Regions from separate parts of the Homo sapiens genome. Here region 1 is linked to region 2. Evidence: promoter capture Hi-C in 16 types of primary human blood cells and fetal thymus (Javierre and others, 2016). All regions are on one chromosome and are shown on one strand. The core of a region is centred on a gene start or on the middle of the fragment in contact, and the rest is flanking DNA. Distances in the headings are between cores, read along the strand shown.

What was found. The method cuts DNA at HindIII sites, captures the fragments that hold promoters and counts their contacts. A CHiCAGO score of 5 or more calls a contact.
Region 1: a contact is called between a fragment that was not itself captured here and the fragment with the promoter of CMTM8 in region 2, in 1 of 17 cell types (non-activated CD4 T cells). The highest score is 6.7, in non-activated CD4 T cells.

Annotation. Positions count from the first base shown.
Region 1 is chr3:32,469,549-32,476,535 of GRCh38, forward strand. No RefSeq gene overlaps it. Among named protein-coding and RNA genes, the nearest start is that of CMTM6, 30 kb to the right of the region's middle. The HindIII fragment of the contact is 2,864 bases long and covers 963-3,826 here.
Region 2 is chr3:32,237,120-32,244,556 of GRCh38, forward strand. CMTM8 (CKLF like MARVEL transmembrane domain containing 8) reads left to right here and starts at 1,561. Exons shown (of 4, transcript NM_178868.5): 1 at 1,561-2,000. The coding sequence starts at 1,854. It also overlaps the pseudogene SMIM11P2. RefSeq lists a silencer at 1,365-1,574. The HindIII fragment of the contact is 4,195 bases long and covers 1-2,282 here.

The DNA.
Region 1 (6,987 bases), core at 1,145-3,644, 230 kb after region 2:
GAGGCCACTGCATATCAGAAAAAAAGCCCAGAAAAAAACCTGCATAATACATGTTATGACTGAAAGCCAGGTATGGATGGAATGAAAGGGACAGGCAGAGCTGGACTAGCTAGGGGGCTGTAAGGGTGCTCAGAACAGCAGATGACCTGATACAAAACCTGGAGTGGATGTCACAGTTCCTGTGGAGCAAAGATCTAAGTCTCAGCTGATACAACTCAGTCTGGGGCAAACGACAGCAGAGGGACAAGACTTAGATGTGGGGTTGCATCCCCAGATTCATTCCTACCCAGGAGGAAGTCCCAAATATTCCTAAACTTACTACATACTTGCTGTGGTTTTGTGAGGTGGTGTGTTGTGTGTGTGTGTGTGTCTGTGTGTGTGTGTGTTTGCCTGGATTGTGCTTCTCTTTTGCAAGAACCTGTTCACTGGATACATTTATTGTGACCCCTGTTGGTGACTCATATCAGGAGCAGTCAGATGCATGCCCAAGAATGGTGTTTACTCATAAAGCTTGCCAAGCATAACATTTGAAACAATGCCTCTTTCTGGGAGAAGAAAAAGTATTTGGTCTTCTCACACAGGTTTTATACCAACAGAGGTGCTATACAGCGCTTTCTTTTTTTGAGATGGAGTTCCGCTTTTATTGCCCAGCTGGAGTGCAATGGCGTGATCTCAGCTCACCACAACCTCCGCCTCCCAGGTTCAAACGATTCTCCTGCCTCAGCCTCCCGAGTAGCTGGGATTACAGACATGAGCCACCACACCTGGCTAATTTTTTTGTATTTTTACTAGAGACAGGGTTTCTCCATGTTGGTCAGGCTGGTCTTGAACTACCGACCTCAGGTGACCCACCTGCTTCAGCGTCCCAAAGGAGCCACCGTGCCCAGCCTATACAGAGCTTTCTTTAGCTGAACATCCCTGTCTGTCGAATGGATGCTGGGAACTCTACTGTGGATTAGGGAAGCTTCAAAAAGAGTGTGGCCATCTTTTGTTTCAATTGTGCTGACATAATAAAAATGAATGAATGTTTTGCTGCCATCCTACCTGGTACTTGGTTTGCAACCTAGGGTATTGCTAATGCATTATTTTAGATCTCCCTGTGGGGAATGTCAGTTTGCTTTCACGAGCACAGCATATAGCACACTTTTATTGCCCTGAATTTCCCAGTGATGTGGCATCAGTGGGTTGGACAAACCCAGCACAGTGTGAACTGCTGGTGTATGGGCAGGCATTTCCATCATGTCTGCACAAAGAAGACTGCTTTCAGGGCGTTACATGCCACCCAAGCACCACTGACGAAAGACAGGTGGGCCCTGAGCAAGGACAAAACCCAGGCGCTCTGCCTTTCAAGTGGTCATCTTGGGGGCTGTGTCACAGCTCAAATAGATATTTCACAATTAAATAAGGAAAACTTTGTAATAGCCACCAACTACAAAAGAAGAAGAAGGAGGAGGAGGAGGAAGAGGAAGAGGAAGAAGAAGAAGAAGAAGATAGAAGAAGGACAAGGAGGAGAGGAGGAGAGGAGGGGGAGGGGGAGGAGGAGGAGAAAAGAAGAAAAAAGAAAGAAGAAGAAGAAGAAAAGTGGCCCTACAGCAAAATTGGCCGCTGGATGGTACATCCCAAACCTAAGAATATTCCTACAGCTTCCATCCCCCAAGTCATCAGACATGTGGCCACATTTGCCCAAGAGCCTGAACAACAAAGAACCTAAGAATCAGCCCAGACAGCAGTAACAGAAGCCTTGCCCTAGAGCCTTTATTTCCTTTGGGTCAAGGAACTACAGGGGTCTGGGACTAACTGCACAGTTGATTAGAGCCTTTGGCAAACCAGACTTCTCTGGTTCTTCTTCTAGACTTTGACCTTTTGAACTTGAGGACTTCTTCCTGCTGCTGAGAAACAACGGCCAGCATCACTGAGCCCTGCCTACGCAAAACAGTCTTCAACTTGACATTCTCATCCTGCAATTCTGAACTAAGTTTCACAAATGGGTGGGACAAGCTCCAGAACATCCCATCACGAGAAGAAAATGGATCTTCCAATTAAGGGCCAAACCCAGCTCCTCAGCCTTTAGCCATCTTCAGGGTGGGTCAAACAGGTGGTGGCCCACCCAGGAGACAGAAATAGTGTCTTTCCTACTGTTTTACAAAAACTGCTGGTTTTATGAAGATGCCACCTATGAAACAGGCCACCTGACAAGAAAGCATCACTGAAGAAAGAGCCCACCCACCTCTGAGCAAGCAGGGCCTTTGGAATGCTACAGCCATCTAGTGATGGCGCAAGGGTGATGGCCCACAGCTTTGGGCACTCTGTGCAATGGGCTGAACTCCAGAAGGGATTTCTGGCCACAGAGAGTACTGCCCTAAGATTAAACATGCCACATGGGCTGTCACGAATGGCCCATCTGTATGGTCAGATCTTTGGGCCAACCAGGACTGGACCAGAAAAGACATACCGAATATTGGATGGCCCCTACCTTGGGGACATGTAACTATTTAATTACAAACTCAGTATCTATCTATATGGTTATATGAAGCAAACACATCTAGTGAAAAGCATTTAAAGTGAAAAAGTCAAACATATGTGGCCATCACCTCCACTACAGACCAATCAACCTGTGCTCAAATCCACCATATGCATGGAACCACCATAAAGGATTGAGATGCCCAGTGATCAATTATGGAGGCCATTGTTTTTTGTTTGTTTTTTTGAGACGGAGTCTCGCTTTGTCACCCAGGCTGGAGTGTAGTGGTGCAACCTCAGCTCACTGCAAGGTCCGCCTCCCGGGGTCATGCCATTCTCCTGCCTCAGCCTCCTGAGTAACTGGACTACAGGCGCCCGTATCACACCCAGCTAATTTTTTGTATTTTTTTTTTTTTTTAGTAGAGACAGGGTTACACCGTGTTCACCAGGATGGTTTTGATCTCCTGACCTCGTGATCTGCCCACCTCGGCCTCCCAAAGTGCTGGGCTTACAGGCGTGAGCCACCGCACCTGGCCGGAGGCCAGGTTTAACTGCAAAGACTATATTATTTGCCAGCTATACCAGACCCTTCAATGCTGACTTCCACAGGGACAGCTGGTCCACCTTCATCTACTTACAAGCTGCACAAGCTGATGATAATCACCTCTGCTTACCCGAGCTCCCTTCAATGGATAAATAGATGAATGGTTCATTTTGTTCAGATCTCTGTGGATAGACTAAAACTTGGATACTCTGTATCAGGTGTTCTATGGCCACCTTCCTCTGCCTGCTATGTACTTATGATAACAAAATGGCAACTCGTGGGTCCAGAAAAAGGACAACTTGAGTCATCCCTAAGACAGGATGACAGATCCCAACTGATCTGGTATAAATGTCTTGACCCTAGAAGTGCATGGAGGCCAAGGGGAAGTGAATCACTCTCTCTTTTTCTATTACAGGCATGAACAACAGTCCCAAATGTCCTTCTACGACTCTTCTAGTTCTCATGTTGTTAAATATGTCACCCCTGGCCCAGCCCAGCTGTAGAACCCCAAGGGTCAGGGGTTAAGACAAATTTGGATGGCATGGAGGTTTGTTTCCTCCCTCATTTTAGTAGCTTGTTGGAGAGATGGCTCAAAAGGTCCATATCAGCGCAGTGCACTAACATACTGAGTCTAGCCCCTGAACCTTTGAAGAGCCCTTTTTTGAATAAGGCCACTTACTATAACAGGGACTTTCATTCTTATAAAATTGCATAATCACTGTTGCCCCCTCCAACTTCCCTATAAACATGTAGAGCACCATGGGGCAGGTCCCTCTCTGCATGTAGTCTCTTTATGTCCAGCATAAATTGTGGGATAATGAAAGCTTGGGGAACCATGCGTACTCAACATTTTTTTTTTTTTTTTTTTTTTTTTTGAGACAAGGTCTCACACCGTCACCCAGGCTGGAGTGCAGTGGCATGATCTCGGCTCATTGCAGCCTCAAACTCCCAGGCTCAGGTGATCCTCCCACCTCAGTCTCCCAAGTAGCAAGGTCTATAGGCGCATGCCACCATACCTGGCTAATTTTTAAACATTTTTTGTAGAGACAGGGTTTTGCCATGCTGCCTAGGCTGCATACTCAACTTCTAATCTGCTCCTTTCCCCCAGCATATTAATTTTATCTGTACCACGAAGCACAGTGTCATATTAAGCTAGACAGCTTTCCCTGTCAGTAGAGAATTTCTGTATTTCACTGTGTGAACATATTCCCTTGTTCAGTAAAAATATTCTTTAATCAGAGAATGCTCATTGATGGCAGGAGCGACTGCTCTTGATTTTGAGGGCACAAGTTCAAGGAAATAGATGGGTGGGATATAAGGAATAAGTGCCTGCTGAAGAATGGCCCCATCCTCCATCCCTCCCTTTACCATGCCCTTCGCCCCCTCACTCTGTAGTACCTCCTCCGTCTGCCCCTGGGCTTGGGAATGCTAATGAATGTGATAAAAGTAGCTAGTTTTTTGTATCTTTGATAGAGATGGGGTTTCGCCATATTGCCCAGGCTGGTCTCAAACTCCTGACTTCAAGTGATCTGCCCACCTTGGCCTCCCAAAGTGCTGGGATTACAGGCGTGAGTCACCGTGCCTGGACCCAAGGGTCATTTAAAACTTCAGGGTCTCCATCCATGCCACCTACCCACAGAGGCTGGCTTTATTAACAGCTGGTTTCTTTCTCTGTTGCCCACATAAACCTGAGATTTAACTTGACTTAAGAGGATTCCAAGGGGAAAGCAATGGGTTGACATGGGTTTGTCCAGTGCCAACAGCAGGTCCCATTCTGCTTCTAGTGGAACAATCTTTCTGGGCATTTTAAATGCTCTGACTTCAGATGAGAGAAGGAGGGCAACAGGTGGCTAGGCAAGGATCCAGAGGCTATACCACGTGCAGAGGTGATTAAGTACCTGAGGATCAAATAAAAAGGGCTCAGCCACTGGAAACCTAGAGTCACACTCCCAAATGACAAAATGGAACCAATATGAGGAGGAAGACTCCGTAAATCCAACAAACAGGAGAATTAGCACCAAAAGAACTTAAGATCTTAACAGAATGGTTTCAAAGAAAATGTAGTATATGAAGTCAAAAGCTCAATGGACTTGCTAAATAGCAAATTAGTTAAAATTCAATGAATAAGTTAAAAACAGCTTAAGAAAAGAATTAGCGTTTGAGGCTGCCATGAGCCTCAAACATCCAGCCTTTTATCTCTCTGTAGCATAAAGAGATAAAAAAAGTAGAAAAAATTATAGGAAGGTTAAATATTGGAGGACTGAATGAGAAAGTCCCACATACATCTCATAAGGAATCTAGAACAAGAGAGAAAATAAGAAAACTAATTTCAAAATGAAAATAGATGAGAATTTTCCAGAAATTCAATTTCATTCCTCAAATTAAAGAAGCACAACACATCCCCAGCAAGTTAAATAAAAATAAATCCACAGACATCTCCAGTGAAACTCAATACCAAATTCAAAGATACAATCTTAAAAGAACCAAAGATTACCTAGTATGAATGCAGACTGACATCATGTTTTTTGCAACATCAGGGGCCAGATGACAATGGAATAAAGTAATATCTTTGAAGTAATGAGAAAAAATATCAATCTAGAATTCTATACCCACCTTAGCTATTTTTAAGAGTAAGGGTAAAATAAAATTTCACTCTTGCAGAAAGGACACCCAACTCTAGAGTTAGAAAACAGTAACCAAAAATAAGGTGGGACTCAAAGACTAAAATATGTTGGTAAATCTAAATCAGCAATGACTGCATAAAACAACATTAATAGTTAACTTAGGAAGTTGTTAAGATAAATGTAAAATACTAGGCAATAACAACATAGTACATGAGAAGAATTGATGGCCATTAATTCTTTTTTTTTTTTTTTTTTTTGAGATGGAGTCTCGCTCTATCGCCCAGGCTGGAGTGCAGAGGCACTATCTCGGCTCACTGCAAGCTCCATCTCCCGGGTTCACGCCATTCTCCTGGATGACCATTAATTCTAATGTCTTAGTATCATTGAGGACATGAGTAGGAGTTCTGATTAATATTACAAATCTTTATAAAATCAAATATGCATGCTAAAAATTTGATGCATATTCCTAGATTCTGAGGAATTCTAGCAAAGTGGCAGGAATGACAGAATTATAAAGTTGCTATTTTGCAACTGCTAACAAAGTAACTGATTTAGGCAAAGATCAATGGATGAAACCTTTTAGCTAAAAAGTTGATGGGAAACTTCACAGTGAGTGGGGAACACATGGTCAGTGCCTGAACCCACTAAGTGTGCACTGAATGTGGTATTACCAGAGAATACAGCACCACCTACAAAAAAAAAAAAAAAAAAAAAAGTTTAATCTGAATTTAAGCATGCCTTTAGGGCTTTCAGTTTACAGAAAATACTGGAAATAAAGGAATAAGTTAAATAACATAACAGAAATTAATAAATCCAAAATGTGAGATATCTGACAGAAATCCACAGACAAACTAGTAGAGGTGTGTAGAGTATTAGGAATGCAATTGATTTTTGATTATTGATCTTACATTCAGCAAACTTGCTGACGTATTCTGTTACTTCTACTAGTAATATGCTAGTATGCATATCAGAATATGTAATTTGCTAATCAGAATATGTAATTTCTTATAAATATCCCATTCTAGGTAACTATAAAAATAAGTATCTAGGATAAATCTGACTAAAGATATGTAAGACCTTTATGAAAACAAAAGAAAATTACTGAAAAACAATAAAAGACCTAAATCAATGGAGATTCTATGTTCATGAATATGAAGTTCAACCAGTAAGATGCCATTTCCCCCAAAATTAATCTTCCAATTCAATGCAATTCCAAGAAAAAAGCAAGAGATAGGTGAGGTCTATCGCTACAAAAAATTTTTAAAAGGTGGCCAGGTATGGTGGTGTGTACCAGTAGTCCCAGCTACTTGGGAGACTGAGGTGGGAGGATCGCTTGAGTCCAGGAGTTGAAGGCTGCAG
Region 2 (7,437 bases), core at 311-2,810:
CCCTCAGAGTTTCTGATTCAGAGGGTCTGGGGGTGGGGCTTGAGACCTTGCATTTTTGATAAGTTCCCAGGGAACTTACCTGCTGTTGGTCCAAGGACCACTTTGAGAACTACTGCTCCAGGGAGAAGTGCTATATTTTAAATTTTAAGAATTTACCCACCAGCCCAAGGTGCTTACCAAATGCACATGGATGGAATCTCTCCAAATCTACATCTTTGCCATGCTTTTGAAGCCTTAACTTTTACTCCTGGAGGTCTTCCTGGCTAGGCCCTAGACTTAAAAGACACTAATTCCTTGTTTTATTTTATTAGATTGTCGTTTTTGCTTTCTTCTCAGCACACTTGATAAGACACTGTGAAGAAAATGTCCCTTCTGATCTCGTTTTTAACCTGTCTTGGAACAGATCAGCAGAAATGCCTTCACTGTGAATCAAAGATACCCTCGATTTATAGCCAAAGATTATTTCCTTTTCTTTTGGTGGCTTCCAGATAAAATGTTTCTTGCTACCCTTTCACAAAATAGAAGGAGGGACCAAGCGGAAGATAATCTTTTTGTTCAGAGGTCCATCTGTCAAAGCCTGCATTTTAGAGATGGCATTACTGAGGTCCAAAAACTAGAGCCACTCGCTCTGGGTCATACAGCCGATAAACGCACGCAGCCGAGCTCAGTTCTTCCCTGACCCTGTTACAAACTGCCTCACTAAATGAGGACCCCCATCCCCTTCCCATGCCAGGAAAGCACAGCTCATTTGTCCTAAAGTTAACATTACACAAATCACACCCTTCAAGCCTTCTTGAAACATTTTTTTTCCCCGAGGGTGACGGGACGGTTACGCTGATTCATCCTGGCCAGGGACCCCAAACATCTCCCCTCCTCCGGCCCAGGCGCCGTCACCCAGGCTCCACCGGTCCGCGGGACAGAGCCGCGGAGAGCGCCTGGAAGCGTCGCGCCCTCAAAGCCAAGCGATTAAGTTGGTTCCTCAAATTGTTCCCGACAGGAGGGGCAGGAAATAACACCGGGCTCTGGCGGCGGCCGCAGCAGGAGGGGGAGAAGAGCGGGCCGTCTCCCGGGCAGTGCTGGCGGCCTCTCATCGATCTCGGGTCTAAGGTCCGGCCGGGTCATCATTCCTGCCATTTCCACAGCATTCGAGGTACCACATCACCCCCTGCCTCGGTCGTCGCTCAGTCATTCCCTCCGCGCCGAGTCCTGGAGCGGCGGAGTCCCTGGAGGCCTGGGTTTCCTTAAGGGGCCCCAATGCCCGCAGCCCCCGACCCGCCCAGGTGGAAGGAAACAGGCTGCGGGCCTGGGCCAGGCGGGGCCTGACAGAAGTAAAGGCCGGGAGGGGGAGCGGAAGACGGCCAGAAGGACCCCTGCGCCCTCTCCTCCGCGCCGCCCGCCAGGCTGCCAACCCAGCCACCCTGGGTGCGACGCGGCGCCTTCTCCGCCGCTGGGAGTCGGGCAACAGGTGAAGAGGGCGGGCGTCCGCGGCGCCTCCGCGGGGCGGTCCCTCTCCTGCCCGCCTCCCGCCCGCCCCTCTCCCCGCCCCCTCCCCTCCTCCGGGCCTCCACCGCCTTCCCCGGCTGCCCGGCAGCCTCCCCTCGCTCGCTCTCCTCTTCCTCTAGGGCCCCAGCGCAGCTCGGGAGCCCGCGCACCGAGGCGCTAGGGGCACCGCGCACTAGAGGGACACCCGCCGCGCCTGGACAGCCCCCGGCGGGCGCCCCCCTCGCACCTCCTGCCCCGCGCGGGCCGCGCTCCCCTCCCCCGCGCCTGTGTCCCCAGGGCGCAGGGCCGCGCGTCCAGCCCCAGACCCGCCGGGGTCCCTGGGGACGCGCCAGCCCGGCAGTGGCTCGACGATGGAGGAGCCGCAGCGCGCCCGCTCGCACACAGTCACCACCACCGCCAGCTCCTTCGCAGAGAACTTCTCCACCAGCAGCAGCAGCTTCGCCTACGACCGGGAGTTCCTCCGCACCCTGCCCGGCTTCCTCATCGTGGCCGAGATCGTGAGTGCCGACGGGCCGGGGGTGGCGGGGGGCTCAGCTGGACCCCGGCGCGTGCTTCCGCCGTGCTTCTCGGGATGGAGCCTGCTCAGATCTTCCCGCGGGCTTTAGGGAACCGTTTTTGCTCAGCCTCGCCTTCTTCCCAAAGTGAAAGACTCTAAACAAGGTCCAGGAAACTCGGGCTGTCCTGGGAAGAAAGGGTTGTGATCCTCAGGATGTCTTGCTGTGGGAGAAATTCAGCTTGTTGGGTCCTCTCGGTGGCGGCGGCAGATCCTGGGAGCAGGAAGCTTGGCTTAGTGGCTATTGAGTTTGTGTTGAGTGTCAGAGACACCTGGTGCCTTTCTCACCTGATCTCCACGTGGATGGCCTCCTCCCTGAAAATAAAGCTTCCTAAGATCAGGGGAAGAGGAAAGGGCTTCTTTCTTTTCCTAATTATCTCCCTGGTAGTAACATTGAGGTGAGTCAGGAAAATTTTACTGAATAAAATCTGAGTGCCATAACCTATTTTAGGACCAAAGAGGTCTTTTGCATGGTGCTGTGCACATCCTGGTTTAGGCTCAGAACATTCCTGGGAAGGAGGCAGGGCATGGGCGTTCTTCTCTTCATTGGAGGGCATAGAGGCTGAAAACTCACGTGATCTTCCCAGAAGTCCCAGCCAGTCCTTCATAGCTGAGAAAGGACTGGAGTCCTGTCAGCAGTTAGAGGTGGTCACTGTTTGAGTCTTCTTCGTGTACCAGGATCTTGTCAAGCCCTTTAGATGTCCTCATACCCTCGTGTAATCCAACGACCACCCTCCCCTGTGAAGGCCTAGAGAGGGGACGTAAATCACACCGGTGGATGGTGAAGCATGGATTCAAACCCAGGCCTGCCTTTCTGCAGGGCCGTGCTCATAACTGCAAGCAGTTGAGACAGCTTCCAGCTGCCCCAGCAGTGCCCCTCTGTCATCTCTCACAGACTTTTGTTAAATATTTGGGAATTGAAAATGAGCCTATGTGGGAGTTAGAGAATGGGCACACCATCATGGTGCAGAAGTGACTGAAGACCTGGGCGGTTCCTTTGAGAAACCTGAAGTAAATCTTGTGTACCTCAAGTAGCTTGCTTGCTCCCCCAGTCTCAGATACCACCCGGACCTGCTCTATGAAGCCCCTGGTGGTCATAATGCACATAAGGTATGAGAAGTGTTGGCTTAGCTCCTCTCCCAGCTGGTTCCCTCAGCGAGTATTGAGGACTTCAGGAGACTCAAAAGCTGAAGGTATTGGAATCGCCTTGCAGGGCCTAGCTTTTAGGAGTTCAACAAATATTTGCTGTGCAAATGAAGGAGTTGGCAGGCTCCTCTGCTTCAGCAGCGCAAACAAAAGCTAAAATGACAGAGATGGGCCTTCTACCTTGGGGTGGATTTGGGCCAGGCATGAAGTATAACGCCTTTGGGTTTTTTTCTGATTTATTATCGATATGCTCTGTGTACTGCGCTTTTTCAGGAAATACAAAAGTGAAAGAAATGTAAGTGGCCCACAATCCCATTACTAGAAATAATCACTGTTGACATGTTAGCATGTATCCTTTTAGATTTCATTAAGCGTTTTGAAAAAGATGGGAAAACATGTAAGCAAAATCACCCTTATTACTACTATAGTTTTTATTTTTGACAGAGCTAATTATGCACCTTTTTTGTTTGTTTTGTTTTGTTTTGAGACAGGGTTTTGCTCTGTCTCCCAGGCTGAGGTGCGGTGGCACCATCATGGTTCACTGCCGCCTTGACCTCTTGGGCTCAAGCGATCTTCCCATCTCAGCCTCCCAAGTAGCTGAGACCACAGGCATGCACCAACACACTTGGATAATTTTTAATTTTTTTCTAGGGACGGGGTCTCTCTGTGTTGCCCAGGCTGCTCTGAAACTCCTAGGCTCAAGCAATCCTCCTGCCTTGGCCTCCTAAGGTGCTGGGATTGTAGGCATGAACCACTGTGCCCCACCTTATGCACATATTTTAAAGATTCGGTCCTACAGGCAGAAATATAAGTTTCTCCCAGTGTCTTCATCTCTTTGAGCTCTAAACAACGTGTTTATAATGCTGTTTATTGGTGTTCCCTCACCCACCCAGTCATAGACATTATCCATTGCCTTTCTACTCTGAAAGATGAGGCTTTAGCTGGGATGCCCTCTTCCCTGCCTCCAATTATACATACCCTCTTCCTGTCTCCCAATATAGGTCCAAACACTTCTGATGGTTCAACTTAGGAATTTTCAGCTTTACAGATGTTGTAAAAGCAGTATGCATTCAGTAGAAATCATACTTCGAATTTTGAATTTTGGTCTTTTCCCAGGCTAATGATATTCGGTAGATATTTTTTCATGATGCTGGTCAGCTCTCAGCCACCCATGCCATCACCAGCGCAAACCACCCATCCTCTCCAGCATGCTGTGCTGCTGGGTGATTCTGCCAGCTGTAGGCTAACCTAAGTGTTCTGAGCACGTTTAAGATAGGCTAGGCTTAGCTATGATGTTTGGTAGGCTAGGGGTATTAAATGCATTTTTGACTTCGGATACTTTCCACTTAGGATGGGTTTATCAGGATGTAACCTCATTGTTAAGTCAAGGGGCATCTGTATAGTCTTCAGGTGATTTGGGTTAGATCAGCAGCCAGTGTTGACCTATGACACTGTAAATACCACTTACAACTGACCCAGTGCGTAGACTATGAATGCTTTTCCTTTCCTGCCCAATTTCTTGTTTGCCCTGGTGTTAGTAATTCTCTTTTCTCATTTCATAATTTCTCCAGATATTTAGTCACTAATTTAACCCTAGTTGTTTAAGTCTCCTATCAAGAAGCTGAGAGACATCAGGTATTCTGTCAGAATCGTCTTCATGACTGGCCTCTCTGGGAGCCTCTGGCCTGGTGGCCTGCACACAGCTGGCCGACTGGGCTCTCCTGCACCATCACTCTGAAGATTCTCTTCCTTTCTTTCCTGGGTTGGATCCTCTGCTTCCCATGTCCAGTGTCCTCTGTCTTGCTTTGCTCCCACTGGGGGGACACACAGCCTCTTGTAGTTTTCTAAGAAAGCATGCATGTGGAAATGGAAATTTGCACCTTTCAGAATAGCTTGATTCTATACACAATTCCTAGTTCAACTAGGTAGAGAGTGTTAGACTGAAAATGTTTTTCTTCAGAATTTAAAATGTATTCTTTTATTGTCCTTTAGCTATTCTGATTTAATTTTGTTTTGTTTTGTTTGAGACAGTGTCTTACTCTGTCATCAGGCTGGAGTGTAGTGGTATGATCACAGTGCAACCTACCCCTCCTGGGCTCAAGTGATCCTCCCACCTCAGCCTCCCAAGCCAGCTGTGACCACAGGCATGGGCCACCATGCCTGGTGGATGATTTTTTTGTATTTTTTGTAGAGACAGGGTTTCGCCATGTTGCTCAGGCTGGTCTCGAACTCCTGAACTCAAGTGATCTGCCCACCTCGGCCTCCCAAAGTTCTGGGATTATAGGCATGGGCCACTGCACCTGGCTGTAAAAATTTTTATTTCAATTATTTATCTCCCTCTACCCCCTGACTTCTGGAAATGTGTTGAACCTTCTTTTTCCCAGAGATCTAAAATATCACAATGATGTGCCTTCATATGAGTGTGTTTTCTCCCAGTGTACTGGGCACCTGGTGTGTTCTCTCAAATAAGGAAAATTCACGTAAGTTTCAGGAGACTCCTCCCCATTTTTACAAAGGTATTTTAGTAAACAAAATACAATTTTTTTTTTTTTTTGAGACAGAGTCTGGTTCAGTTGCCCAGGCTGGAGTGCAGTGGGTCTCATAATGTCACTCAGGCTGGAATTGCAGTAGTGCAATCCCAGCTCACTGCAACCTCTGCCTCCTGGGTTCAGGCAATTCTGGTGCCTTAGCCTCCCAAGTAGCTGGGATTATAGGCGTGCACCACCAAGCCTACCTAATTTTTGTATTTTTCATAGAGACAGGGTTTCGCCATGTTGGCTGGGCTGGTCTCGAATTCCTGACCTCAAGTGATCCACCTGTCTCAGCCTCCCAAAGTGCTGGGATTACAGGTGTGAGCCACCTCACCTAACCAAAATAAAATGATAGCTCTCTTAAAAGTTTATAAAAATAAACATTTATACATTGTTGGTCAGGCGTGGTGGTTCACACCTGCAGTCCCAGCACTTTGGGAGGCTGAGGCCAGCAGATTGCCTGAGCCCAGGAGTTTGAGACCAGCCCAGCCAACATGGCGAAAACCCATCTCTACTGAAAATACAAAAATTAGCCCAGCATGGTGCTGGGCATCTGTAGTCTCAGCTACTCGGGAGGCTGAGGCAGAAGGATCATTTGACCCCAGGAGGTCGAGGTTGCAGTGAGCTGGGATTGCGCCACTGCATTCCAACCTGGGTAACATTGTGAGACCCTGTCTCAAAAAAAAAAAAAAAAAAAATCACATTCTTTTAAAAGTATAGGTTGGGAGTGTATCCTCGGACACATTTTTGGATAATTGTCTTCTCTTCTCAGCTGCAGTCCACTCAGACTGACTTTTACATTGTGAATTCAGGAAGGCAGTACAGCTCACTGTGGTTGAATGCATTTGACCTGTGTTCAGTTTCTGGTTCTGCTCTTCACCATGTACAGTGTGAGCCATTCTTTCAATTCGAAAGTATCTCATAGAGTTGTCAGGACCCAAACAACACAGCTGTGCATGAAATGCTTAGCAAAATACCCTGGATTACTCTTCAGTTATCTCCTTCTCTCATTGATGCCTCTCTTCAGCTTCCAGTTTTGCTGTTTTGCTTCCAGCCTTTTCCTTTGGTATATTTTAACTCCAGCAAATGCCAGACAGAGAATTAATGGTTTCTCTGCCAAGATATTATAGCAGCAGGGATGAGTATTCAAGCATCTTCCAGTTCATGGTAGACCAACTTTGAATTCACTCCTGATCAACATAGCTGCCCCCTGCGCCGCCCTGACAAGTACGTGAGGAGAGGGAGCTGTGGAAGGTCAGGTCCAGGGAGCTAGAAGGTTTGATAGTTTCTGGCTGCAGAACCACCTGCACTTGCCCTGCACACCAACCAAGATCTTACCTAAGGAGTTTTTTTGAGACAGAGTCTCACTGTGTCACCCAGGCTGGAGAGTGCAGTGGCACAATCATAGCTCACTGCAACCTGGAACTCCTGGGCTCGAACAGTCCTCCCGCCACAGTCTCCTGAGGAACTGGGATTACAGACATGCACTGCCAATTCTCAGCTAATTTTTTGTTTAGAAACGGGGGTCTCACTGTGTTGCCTAGGCTAGCCTTGAGCTCCTGGCCTCAAGCAGTTCTCCTCCTTAGGCCTCCAAAAACACTGGGATTGCAGGCATGAGCCGTTGCGGCCAGAAGATTTTTTGTTTAATTCGAATTTTCTCTTTCCATTTTCTCAGTTCTTTCTAAAACTCCTTTTATACTTTTT